2 separate regions of the Homo sapiens genome follow, and region 1 is linked to region 2. Evidence: promoter capture Hi-C in human tissues and cell types (Jung and others, 2019). All regions are on one chromosome and are shown on one strand. The core of a region is centred on a gene start or on the middle of the fragment in contact, and the rest is flanking DNA. Distances in the headings are between cores, read along the strand shown. Region 1 overlaps MPRIP (myosin phosphatase Rho interacting protein). Region 2 holds the start of COPS3 (COP9 signalosome subunit 3).

The links. The method cuts DNA at HindIII sites, captures the fragments that hold promoters and counts their contacts. A contact is called where the count stands out against the background at its distance.
Region 1: a contact is called between a fragment that was not itself captured here and the fragment with the promoter of COPS3 in region 2, in 1 of the 25 tissues and cell types used here (adrenal gland).

What each region holds. Positions count from the first base shown.
Region 1 is chr17:17,112,403-17,118,395 of GRCh38, forward strand. The region is part of intron 3 of MPRIP (myosin phosphatase Rho interacting protein); the gene reads left to right. Among named protein-coding and RNA genes, the nearest start is that of MPRIP, 73 kb to the left of the region's middle. The HindIII fragment of the contact is 5,901 bases long and covers 1,712-5,993 here.
Region 2 is chr17:17,278,622-17,285,451 of GRCh38, forward strand. COPS3 (COP9 signalosome subunit 3) reads right to left here and starts at 2,625. Exons shown (of 12, transcript NM_003653.4): 1 at 2,511-2,625. The coding sequence starts at 2,565. RefSeq lists enhancers at 2,013-2,072, 2,723-2,822 and a silencer at 2,263-2,502. The HindIII fragment of the contact is 6,625 bases long and covers 1-4,304 here.

The sequences.
Region 1 (5,993 bases), core at 3,412-5,911, 160 kb before region 2:
GAAGTCTGTGGCAGGCACCATGTCTTCCTCATCACTGTGACCCCAAGCCTGATGTCCAGTAGATGCCATGGAGTTAAAGGATTTGGGGGATGGTGGCCCTGCCCCGCAGCCCCAGCCCCTCCCCAGCTGCCCCTGTCCTCTGTACGTGGAACAGTCCTGGCTCCTGCCGTCTGCTCCTGCAGGGCTCACTCAGGACCGTCATCTGCATGGTTCATCGCTCCCATGAACTGAGTTCCACTTACTCCCAGCCTCCTCCCCTCTGCCCCTTTAAGGGGAGCCCAGCTCTGCGGGAGGAGGACAGCCTCCTGAGGACAGGGCTGCAACTGGGCTGTGGGTTGGTGCCACTGGACAAAGGTGTTTCAGCGCAGCCGGTGGCGTTGAGGGGGAGGGAGGGAGGATGAGGCGGCCCTCAGGCTGTGCCTGTACTGCGTTCCATCCCCACTGAGTAGCACGCGGGCCTTGGGAGAGGCTAGGCATTTCTGCTGGTGACACAGCCAACTCACTCTGTCCTTTCTCCCTGGCCACAGGAGGCCAGTGAGGCATCCTCAGCCCTGGGCTGTTTCCCAGCGGTCCTCCGAGCTCAGACAGCTGGGATGGAACTTGGGGTCTCACTAGCTCCCATGAGCTTTGGGAGCTGTCCACTTGGGGACTCCCCAGGGTTGGGGCTGGAACTGTTTCATGCCCTGGGGGGTGGCAACTTGAGGCTGCCCTTGCAGACGGCTCCTGGCCCTGCCCTGCAGTCTCTTCTTCCACTGATTGGTATCCCTGCCTGCCCTCCCCAGCTGAGTCCATCACTAGTGGTATAGCTCTCAAGGGTCTGTTTTCTATGAAGACAGGGACAGAAATGCCAGAGAAAGGTAGCTGGGGTATAGGTCAGGTACAGAATTTTTGAAAAGAAATTTGCCAGTAGCTGTTCTCACCCTGGCAACCACCATTCTACTCTCTATGAATTTGAGTACTTTGGGTGCTTCACATAAGTGGAATCATACAGTATCTATCCTTTTGTGACTGGCTTATTGCACTTAGCATAGTGTTTTCAAGATTCATCCATAGTATAGCACATACCAGAATTTCTTTCCTTTTTATGGCTGAATTATATGGCAGTGTATATACATACTACATTTTGTTTATTCATCTATCTATTGGTGGACACTGGAGCTGCTTCCATCTGTTGGCTATTGTGAATAATGCTGCCATGGTACGTGGGTGTACAAATATCTGTTCGAGTCCCTGTGTTCAGTTCCTCTGGGTATATACCTACAAGTGGAATTGCTGGATGAAACAGCAAATCTATAAAGTCCAGTTTAATTTTTTGAAGAAGCTCCATACTGCTTTCCAGAGTGGCTGCACCACGGTTCCAGTTACTCCATGACCTCACCAACACTGACAGTTTTCTGTTTTTTAACTTACCTCTACCCTAGTGAATGTGAACTAGCATCTCATTGTGGCTGATGTGATTTGCATTTTCTTTTCTTTTCTTTTCTTTTTTTTTTTTTTTTTTTACTTAAGAGACAGGGTCTCACTCTGTTGCCCAGACTGGAGTGCAGTGGTGCCATCACAGCTCACTGCAACCTCGAACTCCTGGGCTCAAGGGATCCTCCCTGCTCCCAAGTAACTGGGACTATAAGAGTACACCACCACATCTGGCTATTTATTTTTTAATTTTTATTTTTAGAGATGAGGTCTCACTATCTTGCCCAGGTTGGTCTCAAACTTCTGGCCCCAAGCAATCCTCCTGCTTTGGCCTTCTGAAGTGCTAGGTGACTTTCATTTTCTAATGACTAATGACGTCAGGCACCTTTTTATGTGTGTCTTGGCCATTTGTATATCTTCTTTGTATATTCACATCCTTTGTCTATTTTTAATTGTTTTTTGTTGTTGAGTTTTAGGAGCTGTTTATTCTAGATACTAATACTTTGTCAGATATATGATTTGCAAGTATTCCCTTCCCTTCCCTAGGTTGCCTTTTCGCTCTCTTGGTCCTTAGATGTACAAAGGTTTTTAATTTTGATGAAGTCTAGTTTATCTTTTTTTTTTCTTTTGTTGCTTGTGCTTTTGGCGTCATATCCAAGAAATGGTTGCTAAATCCAGTGTTACAGGGCTTTTTTCCTTGGTCTTCTGTGCATTTTATAGCCTTTGTTCTTGCATTGAGGTATCTGCTCCATTTCAAGTTCATTGTTGCATATGGTGTAGTGTCACCCTTGGTTGGTGGATCCTGCTAGCTGACCATTGTGGTGGGTGAGGGGGATGAAAAGCTGTTCTTCCCCAGTTCCCATGCCTCTCCTACCTTCTTCCCATCTACCCCCCGCCCACCCACCACCAGTTTTAGGAGGAAGGTGGGCCTTAACTGGGTGAGGGCTCCCAAGGGAAGCTCCTCTGGCAGAGGGCCCTTGGCCATTTGGCGGGGGCCCTGGTATCTCGCTGCCCAGGCAGCGGCCGAAGCCAGCAGGCCAGCCTGGCGTAGCAGGTGTGAGGAGGAACTTCCTGGTCTTGGCAGCAAGTGAAAAAGGTCCTTGTTTTCTTATTTTCTCCGTTAAAAAAAAAGTAGTTTAGTGGTTCTAACTATGCCCCTGGGAAAGCCCTGAACGGGTCATTTCCTCAGCATCCCACAAAGTCACTTGTAGCAGAAGGCCCAGCCCACGCACTGCAGCACCAAGGCTGGGGCGAGGCCCACACTGCATTGTTGCTGCTGGCATTAGCAGATGCTGCACATCTTGGAGGCCCCCTCCTGCTAATCCACGAATGCCTCAGAAAGCATGCACTGTCTCTGGGGCCAGAGCTGAATCTTAGAAGAGGGCCTACTTGGGATGGGAGCGGTAGCTCTGCGTCTGTGGTGACACCCACTGTCACATTCCAGTAGAGGGAAGGAAAGGTAGGGCCTCGGGATTTTGGCCCTGACTGCATGGTTCCTGCTTCTTCTGTGATGGAGGCGGCATGCTGTGGTGGGCTAGGAGTTAGGAAGCCTGGGCCTGAGTTTCCACGTCCAGACGTTAGGGAGAGGTGGGGTGTAGAGGGCCTTCCAGGCCTGGGTTGGCAGGGAGGCGAGCTCTTTCTCGTGATGGAGCCATGAAGGCCTGTTGGAAGGCCTGGCCTGCTTGCTGCTGAGCCTGTGGTTTCTCCCTGTTATCTGTGCAGTGTTCTGTTTTGTTTTGTTTGAAGTGTACAGGTCATTGTCTTTGAGGATATTCACGTGGTTATACAACCACCAACACAATCTAATTTCAGAGCATTTTTCATCAACCCCCAAACAAACCCTGCATCCCTTAGCTGCCACCGCCACTCCTCCCCTCCTGCTTCCCATCTTTATCGATTGGCCTGTCCTGGACGCTTGATGTAAATGGAGTCATGCAGCATCATCTCACAACTTTACCATCTGCTGGTTGCAGCAGAGTCATTGGCCCAAGGCTGGGGTGGTGGCTTCAGACCAACACCATGGACTTGGTGGCCTAGGTGCTGATCATGCAAAGGCCATTCCTCAGGGGCCTGCATCTCTTTCCAGACAGCTTCTCTACCTCATGCCCTGCAGAGCCTGCCACTGTCTGGTCTTTGCACACGTGTCATCCTGTTAACCCTTAATGAATATGGGATTTTGGTTAAAATGATGGTTTCTATTTTATAAATAAAACGTATCTATTACATATATAAGTAAATCAAATATTTATATTATAATTAAATCTATAATATAAATCTAGCAGGGTTGGCTTGTTCCATCATTCAGAAATGTTTACTGAAGCACATATTGGAAGGTGCTGACCTAGGTGTATAGAGTAAATACAAGGAGTTTTATCAGGCACCTTGTGGCTTAGTATGCAGAGCAGTTGGGCAGACCTGTGGATGGGCCATGGCCTCTGCACAGGGGCTCCCTTCAGGGAGCACAGGACAATGATCCAGGAGGGGAGATGTGCCAGGCAGGCCTCTCCGGCAGGACAGTGATAAAGGAGGCTGCTCTGTGCAGCGGGTAACCGTGGGTCTCCCAGGCCAGCAAGTAGGTCCAGGAGGCAAGGTGGGGCAATTGGTGCAGGGAGCAGAGCTTGGGCTGGGAGCTGTTGGAGCAGTTGAGTTGTGGGTTGGCTTGGCCGGATCTATGTTCATGAAGAATGGTTCTGGGGCTGTTCCTGTTGAATCATTCTGAGGCTCCCAGCACTGCTGTGCCTAGGAGGGTAGAACCCATGGGCCTCTTCACTGTGTACCAGGTGTTCCCAGCTGGCCTCATCTAGCCAAGCCTCCCACGGAACTCCCAGAATCACAGGTCTGAGGCCTCCGTCCTGCCAGTCCCCAGTCTGTATTGGTGGGCAGTGGGAAAGGGCCTGCCCCGCATGCATCTGCAGCTGGGGAGAGGGGTCAGAAATGTTTTGCAGGTAGTGTCTGGGGCCAGGTGCTGTCAGCCTGGGGCTCAGCAGAGGGGCAGACCCTGCTCTCCCCTGGAATGTGGCCTGGGAAACCAGCCTCTGGTGCTCCCCAGGGCCCCAAGGCAAGGGCCAGAGAGGCACAGGGAGAATCTGCACGGTACTCAGCTGCCTTTGGATTGACCCTTCGGCTTGGTCCATTGTTTTCAAGAGCCCTTATCAGCCATCTTAGCACAAGTAGATGGCCATGGTCTCTGAGTAGAGGATGTGCCCCCTCCCCTTGCAGAAGACGGTGGCCCATGATGCCCAGAGCTCCTCAGTCCACTGAGCCCTGCCTCTCTGCCACAGGGTAGAAGACGGAACATGCCCGACACTGTCCTCCCTCCTTCCCAAACATTCGAGGAAAGTTGTTGAACCCATCGTCTTCTGACCACCACCCTTGCTTGGTAGGAGAGTGGTGATGTGCACTGAGAAGCAGCAGGCGGCACGGGTGTGCCATCCCGAGCCTGAGCTCGAGTCCCGCTTCAGCTGTGCAGTATCGTTTGTAGTCTTGTGACAGAAGGGGGTAGATTATCACCCCAAAGGGAAATCTCTAGGCCAAAACATTAGGCCACTTCTCATTCCCCTCCCCTAGCCCCTGGCAACCACTCCTCTGCTTTTTCTCTATGGGTTGGCCTTTTCTGAACATTTCACCAAGATGGAGTCACACAGTGTGTGTCCTTTTGTGACTGGCTTCATTCACTTAGCGTGATGTTTCCAAGGTTTGCTCATGTTGGAGCATGTGTCAGGATTTCATTCTTTTTATGGCTGAATAAAATAATATTCCATTGTATGAATATTGCATTTTGTCTATCCATTTGTCCACTGATGGACATTTGGGCTGTTTCCACCTTTTGGCTATCGCGAATTATGCTGCTACGATATGATTTGTGTATATGTTCGAGTACCTGTCTTCTGTTCTTTTGGGTATATATCCAGTAATCAACTTGTTGGGTCATATGGAAACTGTCTGTAATTTTTTGAGGAACTGCTAAAGTTTTCCACAATAGCTACACCACTTTACAATCAAAACGAGGCCTATATTTACTACCATTTTACATTAGGGAAACTGAGGCTCACAATTTGCGACTTGCCCAGAATCACAGAGCTAGTGAGTGCAGAGCTAGGACTTGACTCCAAGGGTAGGCTCTTCTTGGCTAGAGAGCTCTGAAAACAGATTGCTTAGAGTCTACCTTAGATCTCAGAACTTCTGCAGAGGGAAACAGCTGGGAGAGCAGTGGTTTGTGGCTCCAGCTCTTCCTCCTGTCCTGGGCTGATGGAAGCCCCATGAGCTGGTCTCCCTGGCCTGTGCTGTAGGTCCAGCCTAGGTAGCCCTGGCTGGCCAAAGCTGCCTAAGGTCCTGGGAGTCTCACGGGGGCTGTGTGGCTAGCCCAGGTCATGGGGTGGTCTCCCGGCCCTTCTTTCTGCAGCCAAACTACTTCTAGGAGCCTGATCTAACAAATCACAAGCCTCTCTTTTGAGGATGTGCTGGGGACCACCCCAAAAGCCATCGGGTGTAGAATGGGCATCCAACTCTTGGCCCAAAGTCCCTCTGGGGTTGCAGGACCCTCTCTGGGGTCTGCCAGGTTGTAGCATGCAGGTTTCATG
Region 2 (6,830 bases), core at 1,375-3,874:
CCTTTGTAAACCATTACTCTAAATATATTAACAATAATTTGTAACACCCAGAAATAAGCATTGCAATCCATTAGTTCTCTACTAGTTAACAATCAGTGCCCAGTTGAGACTGAAATAAAAGCTGGGTCACTATGAAATCACCAGATAATTAATTAGTGCAGGGCCAAGGGCAGAGTAAAAAAAAAAAGTTTAAGTGTCACAGAGTGCATTTGAAATCAGTGTAACCAGAGATGTGGCCAATAAAATTCTTTTTTTTCTTTTTTTTTTTTTTGAGACGGAGTCTTGCTCTGTCACCCAGACTGGAGGGCAGTGGCGCGATCTTGGCTCACTGCAAGCTCCACCTCCCAGGTTCATGCCATTCTCCTGCCTCAGCCTCCCGAGTAGCTGAGATTACAGGCGCCCGCCACCATGCCTGGCTAATTTTGCATTTTTAGTAGAGACAGGGTTTCACCATGTTGGCCAGGGTGGTCTTGAACTCCTGACCTCAGATGATCCGCCCGCCTCGGCCTCCCAAAGTGCTGGAATTACAGGAGTGAGCCACTGCGCCTGGCCTGAAACTCAAAGATTTCCTATCCAGTGAGTGTGAGGCACAGTAGCCGACAGCAATGAAAGTTACCATATTTATCTCTGTCTAGCAGACTGTTCCTATAGCATCCTATAACCTGAAGACCACAACAGCCCTAGTTCTGTTTTGTAATTAAGAAAATTGGCCCAGGGAAATTAAGTGGTTCACCCAAGAAGTGACCGCGACAGGATTTCAACCTGAAGCTTCTAACTACACTACACCCCAGGAAGGAGAACACTAAGTATTTGTCGAATAAATTAACAAACCAGTGGTTCCTTTATTCATAGAAAAGGCAAGCCTGTGCCTTCCCTGTGAACCTCATTTCTATTAATAAAAAGGAAAAAGAGGAAGAATTCTTATTAAGTGCAGCTCCATATCAGACCATTTGTCTTACACCAGTGAGGTAAAAGCACCCCTCCATTTTTACAATGGAGATGCAAAAGACTCAGAGATTAAAGGTTATTTGTCCAAGGTCAAGCAGCTCCTAGAACTTTGCAATTAATGACGGTAACAATAATTTGCAGCTATATTTATTGCACCCCTTATGACAGGCACTGTTCCAACTGCTTTTACATGGTTTCTCTCATTGAATCTTCACAACTCTACATAAACTAGGGACTTATTTTGCAGACGAAGAAACTGAAGCACGGGATAGTTAAAAGGGCCTTCACAGCCAGCATCTAATCATTCGAATTTCAGGTCCAGAATTCGGTACATTCATACGCAATGAATGAACCAAACAACCTGGAAAGTGCGAGTAAAATCATCACAATTCTACCCCTAGAAATGGAGTCCTGGCCGGGCGCAGTGGCTCACGCCTGTAATCCTAGCACTTTGGGAGGCCGAGGTGGGCGGATCACTTCAGGTGAGGAGTTCGAAACCAGCTTGGCCAACATGGTAAAAACCCCATCTCTATTAAAAATACGAAAAAATTAGCCGCGTGGGCTGGCCGCGGTGGCTCATGCCTGTAATCCCAGCACTTTGGGAGGCCGAGGCCAGTGGATCACCTGAGATCAAGGTTCGAGACCAGCCAGGCCAACATGGTGAAACCCTGTCTCTACTAAAAATACAAAAATTAGCCGGGCAGGCGCCTGTAATCCCAGCTACTCGGGAGGCTGAGACAGGAGAATCGCTTGAACCTCGAAGGCGAAGGTTGAGGTGAGCCGAGACCGCGCCACTGCACTCCAGCCTGGGAGACAGTGAGACTCCGTCTCAAAAAAAAAAAAAGCCGTGTGAGCTGGCGGGCGCCTGTAATCTCAGCTACTCGGGAGGCTGAGACAGGAGAATCGCTTGAAGCCGGGAGGCTGAGGTTGCAGTGAGCCGAGATCGCGCCACTGCACTCCAGCCTCGGCTAAAAAAAAACAAAGAAGAAGAAATGGAGTCCTACGAGCGAGAGCTTCCGCAGCATTCTGTAGGACCAAAATAGGCGCACAGGTTCCCGAGCGTGCGCCGCCTGGCAGCGGAGGAGCTGGCAGAGGCGAGCCATAGAGCCAAGACACCCAGAACGGACTCGCCTCCCGCCCGCTCCCGGCGGCCTAGTCAGCAAGCTGCGGATCGGCGGCAAAGATGACATGGCGGTGCGCCAATCACCGAAGGCAAGAGAGACAGAAGGAACCAATAGTCGCCCGAGATGGCTCCTGGCGGAAGTCACGCCCCCAAACTGTCAAGCAAAGCGCCCGGTGGAAGGGGCCCAGGCCGGGGGGAGGGGGCTCCCGGCGGCCCGAGGGAGGGGAGGCCGGCCGGCGAGGACAGCGGAGCGCGAGGGGGCTGCCTACACTCGGCCGCGCTCGATCCTGCCCTGATCTAAACGCCGCAACCCCAAGCCCGGCCCCGGAGAAGAGTCTCAGGACTAAAAGGGCTGTTCCAGCCGTCCGTGCTGGCGCCTGGGGATCCAGGCCAGTTCCCGGTACCCGCCCATGCCCAGCCCGGCGGCCTAGGGCGTTACCTTGAGCTGAGAGCTGTCGGACACTGTTCACGAACTGCTCCAGGGCAGACGCCATGTTTTCCCCCGGGCGGCCCGAGCGGCGAAGGCAGCACGCGCGGGAAAAGGCTGCCGCTCTGGGAGGAGGGGCCGCGGCGATCCACCTGAGGTCCTCGCGAGCGGCGACGTCACTTCCGCTGGTTCAAGCACCGCGAGACTATACCTAGCTGCCCACCCGTTACTGTTTCCATGGAAACAGCCTGAATTCGCCGTAGCCGGAAATTAGTGTTCCATAGTCCCCTGCATCTTTATTCACTGCACTTCTGAAATCCCTCCGCAGGTTAAATGGGGATAGTGGGCAAAAGAAGGAAGGAAACTCATAATTAAGCAAGTATTTTCTGGTTCTGGATTTTGCTAGAGAGGCCCTGCGGTTTTCCACCTGGACAGATACTTCAATGAAGCACAACTTCGTTGCCACGTCTCCCGTGAGGTTTTCCCCGTGATATTAGACTCTGGAGCCAAGCAGCCTGGGTTCAACTGCCTTTTCTACCACTTAGTAGCTGTGTGACGTTGAGCGGGTCACTTGACTGTCGTGTGCATTGTTTTCCCCATCTGTAAAATCTTAGTGTCCTTAACCACGTAAAACACTTAGGACAGTGCATAGGACGTAGGGAGAACTATAGTTATTCATTCAAGGTGTACGTTGAATGAATCGATCCCTTCCCTGCAAAAAATAAATAAATAAGTAACACCACACACAGAAAGTGAATTGATTTTTCCCATCTGGGATTGATGTCTCCCTCCTCCGCTTGTCGCCTAAAGCACTTTGTTCTTCTCATGTTGCACTTCTACTCTGTTACAGAAATGTGTCTCTATAGTCCATGTGATATCTGTAAACCAAAAATAAAAGTCTAAGCCCCCCAACTGACTGGTGGACCCTATCTGAAGCCAAGGACATTCCAATTTATCCTGAAAAACTAGTTCAGGCCATGATGGGAAGTGGTAGTCAGACATGCCTCACAAACATCAACACAGAGACCTTAAGACTGGTAGACTCAAGACTGATAAGAAATATTTACAATCTATTCTGTCTGAATAGCAGGCTACCTGGAAGCCTCATCTGCATGATAAAACCTTGGTCTCCACAACCCCTTATAATCATAACCCAGATATTTCTTTCTATTTACTTCCAGGTCTTTAGATAATAACTCTTTCAACCAATTACCAATCAAAAAATCTTTAAGTCTACCTATAAGGTAGAAGCCCCCCACTGCCCCGAGTTAGCCCGTCTTTCCGATCCTAACCAACGTACATCTTACATGTATTGATCGATGACTCATGTCTCCCTAAAATGTATAAAACCAAACTGTACCCGCACCTTGGGCACATGTCCTGAGGAGCTCCTGAGGCCGTGTTATCATCGCATCCTTCACCTTGGCAATATAAACTTTCTCGATTGAGACTGGTCTCAGATACTTTTGGTTTACGGATCCATTGCTTCTAACTGGCATGGAGTTCCTTAAGGTCAAGCATTTCTCTTACTAACCTTGGTTCCCCTTTAGGGCCCAGCATAGGATTTGCTGCATAGTAGGGACTGAGAAAATAAACATGCATTTTAAAATTTTATCCAACATATGTTTACTGACACTTACAATGTGTTGTACCAGGCACTAGAAATACAGTGGTAGTAAAAACAGTCTTGGGGCCTGGTGCAGTCTCTCACGCTTGTAATCCAGCACTTTGGGAGACTGAAGCAAGTGGATCACTTGAGGTCAGGGGTTGGACACCAGCCTGGCCAACATGGTGAAAAGCCATCTCTACTAAAAATACTACAAAAATTAGCTGGGCTTGGTGATGGGTACCTGTAGTCCCAACTACTCGGGAGGCTGAGATGGGAAAACCTCTTGAACCCGGGAAGTGGAGGTTGCAGTGAGCCGAGATGGCACCACTGCACTCCAGCATGGGCGACAGAGCAAGAATCTGACTCAAACAAAACAAAACAAAACAAAACAGTTTCGGTCCTTCTCTCCTGCAGACAACACATGAAGACCCTAGATAAAAGGAGTTAGTGGTCTGAAGGAATGGAACATGGTTCTATAAAATCATGTCACAGAGGAGATTGACCTGGCTTGGGAGAAACAGGGAAGGCTTTCTTGAGGAAATGGCATAAACTGAGCAACGAAGAAAGAGGAAGAGTTAATAAGATAAGGGGGAAGGAATATTTCTGAGTGAGAGGACAGTATGGTGCTAAGACCCTGCAAGTGAAAGGAGCATGCTAGTTGAGAATGAAGAACTGAAAGAATGTCCTTGTGGTTGGAGGGGAGTAGTTTGTAAGGTGGACAGGGGCCAGGTCATGTAAGCTGTGTTAAAGGTACTGGACTTTTTCCTGAGAAGATTGGGAGGACTGGAGAGTTTTATGCAAGCGGTGGCAGGATCAAATTTGCGTTTTAGGACCGGGCGTGGTGGCTCACGCCTGTAATCCCAGCACTTTGAGAGGCTGAGGTGGGTGGATCACGAGGTCAGGAGTTCAAGAGCAGCCTGGCCAGAAAGATGAAATCCTGTCTCTAGTAAAAATACAAAAAATAGCCGGGTGTGGTGGCGTGTGCTTGTAATCCCAGCTACTCAGGAGCTGAGGCAGGAGAATCGCTTGAACCAGGGAGGTGGAGGTTGCAGTGAGCTGAGATCAGGCCACTGCACTCCAGACTGGACAATAAAAAGAGACTCAACTTCAAAAAACAAAACAACAACAACAAAAATTGCATTTTAAAAAGATTTGTCTGGCTTCACATGGATAACTTGGGAGACAGGAAGCTATTGCAATAGTCAACATAAAATAGAATAGTAATAATTATACTTTAAATAATTATACCTTGAATGCTAATAGTTTTACTCTTACCAGGAGTTCGAGACCAGCCTAGACAACACAGCGTGACTTTGTCTCTACAAAAAAAATTTTAAAAACTAGCTGGTTGTGGTGGTGCATGCCTATTGTCTCAGCTACTCTGGAGGCAGAGGTGGGAGGACCACTTAAGCCCAGGAATTTAAGGCTGCAATGAGCTATGATCTCGCCACTGCACCCCAGCCTGGGTGACAGAGTAAGACCCTGTTTCTTTCAAATAAATAGTAATAATAATAGTTCTTTCGAAAGTGTAGATAAATTCACCAGGATAAATTGGTGAACTTGAGACATGTTTAGATGAATGACTGTAGCACTTGTACTCTAAGATGGAAATGCTCCTGAATGTTCTATGGAAGCAATTGGTCCTTAATCTTTGATCATTTGCAACACACAAGACAGACATTTTGACTTATGGGACACATTTCCATGGATATACATGGATTTTGGTGAAAGCCAAAAATGTTGAAGATAAGTAAAGCACTACAATAATTCAAAGTAGCCACAGCTACTAATAATACTTTGATTGTTTATTTATTATTGCCTATTTAGGTTGTGGCAGCTGCTCTCAAACTGTGACTCCACCAATCAGCAGCGTCAGCGTCATTTGGGATCTTCTTGGAAATGCACATTCTTGGACCCCACTGTAGACTTCCTATATCAAGAGCTCTGAAACTGGGCACGGACCCTCACGCCTATATAAAAATTAGCCAGGCGGTAGTGGTGCACACCTGTAATCCCAGCTACTTGGGAGTCTGAGGCAGGAGAATCGCTTGAGCCTGGGAGGTGGGGGTTGTGGTGAGCTGAAATCATGCCACTGCGCTCCAGTCTCGGTGAGAGAGTGAGACCCTGTCTCGAAAAAAAAAAAACGGTGATTTCCAGAAATCTGAGCTTAACAAGCCTGCAGGTAATTCTGATGGTGCTAAATTCTGAGAGCATCTGGACCGTGGCCTCCAGATGAGCCAGCATGCAAATAACATTTCAAAACAGCTAAAAGCTAAATTCAAAACAGCTAAATTCCACCCTTCTCTTTCCTCTCAAAAACAAATGACTGAAAGAGACGTGATTATAGGGATAAACCTGAATATATTCTAACTTGTTTTTTTTTTTTTTTTTTTTTTTTTTGAGACGGAGTCTCACTCTTTCGCCCAGGCTGGACTGCAGTGGCGCTATCTTGGCTCACTGCAAGCTCTGCCTCCCGGGTTCACGCCATCCTGCTGCCTCAGCCTCCCAAGTAGCTGGGACTACAGGCGCCTGCCACCACACTCGACTAATTTTTTGTATTTTTATTAGAGACGGGGTTTCACCGTGTTAGCCAGGATGGTCTCGATCTCCTGACCTCATGATCTGCCTGCCTCGGCCTCCCAAAGTGCTGGGATTACAGGCGTGAGCCACCGTGCCCGGCCTTGTTTTGTTTTTTTATACAGAGTCTCGCTGTCACCCAGGCT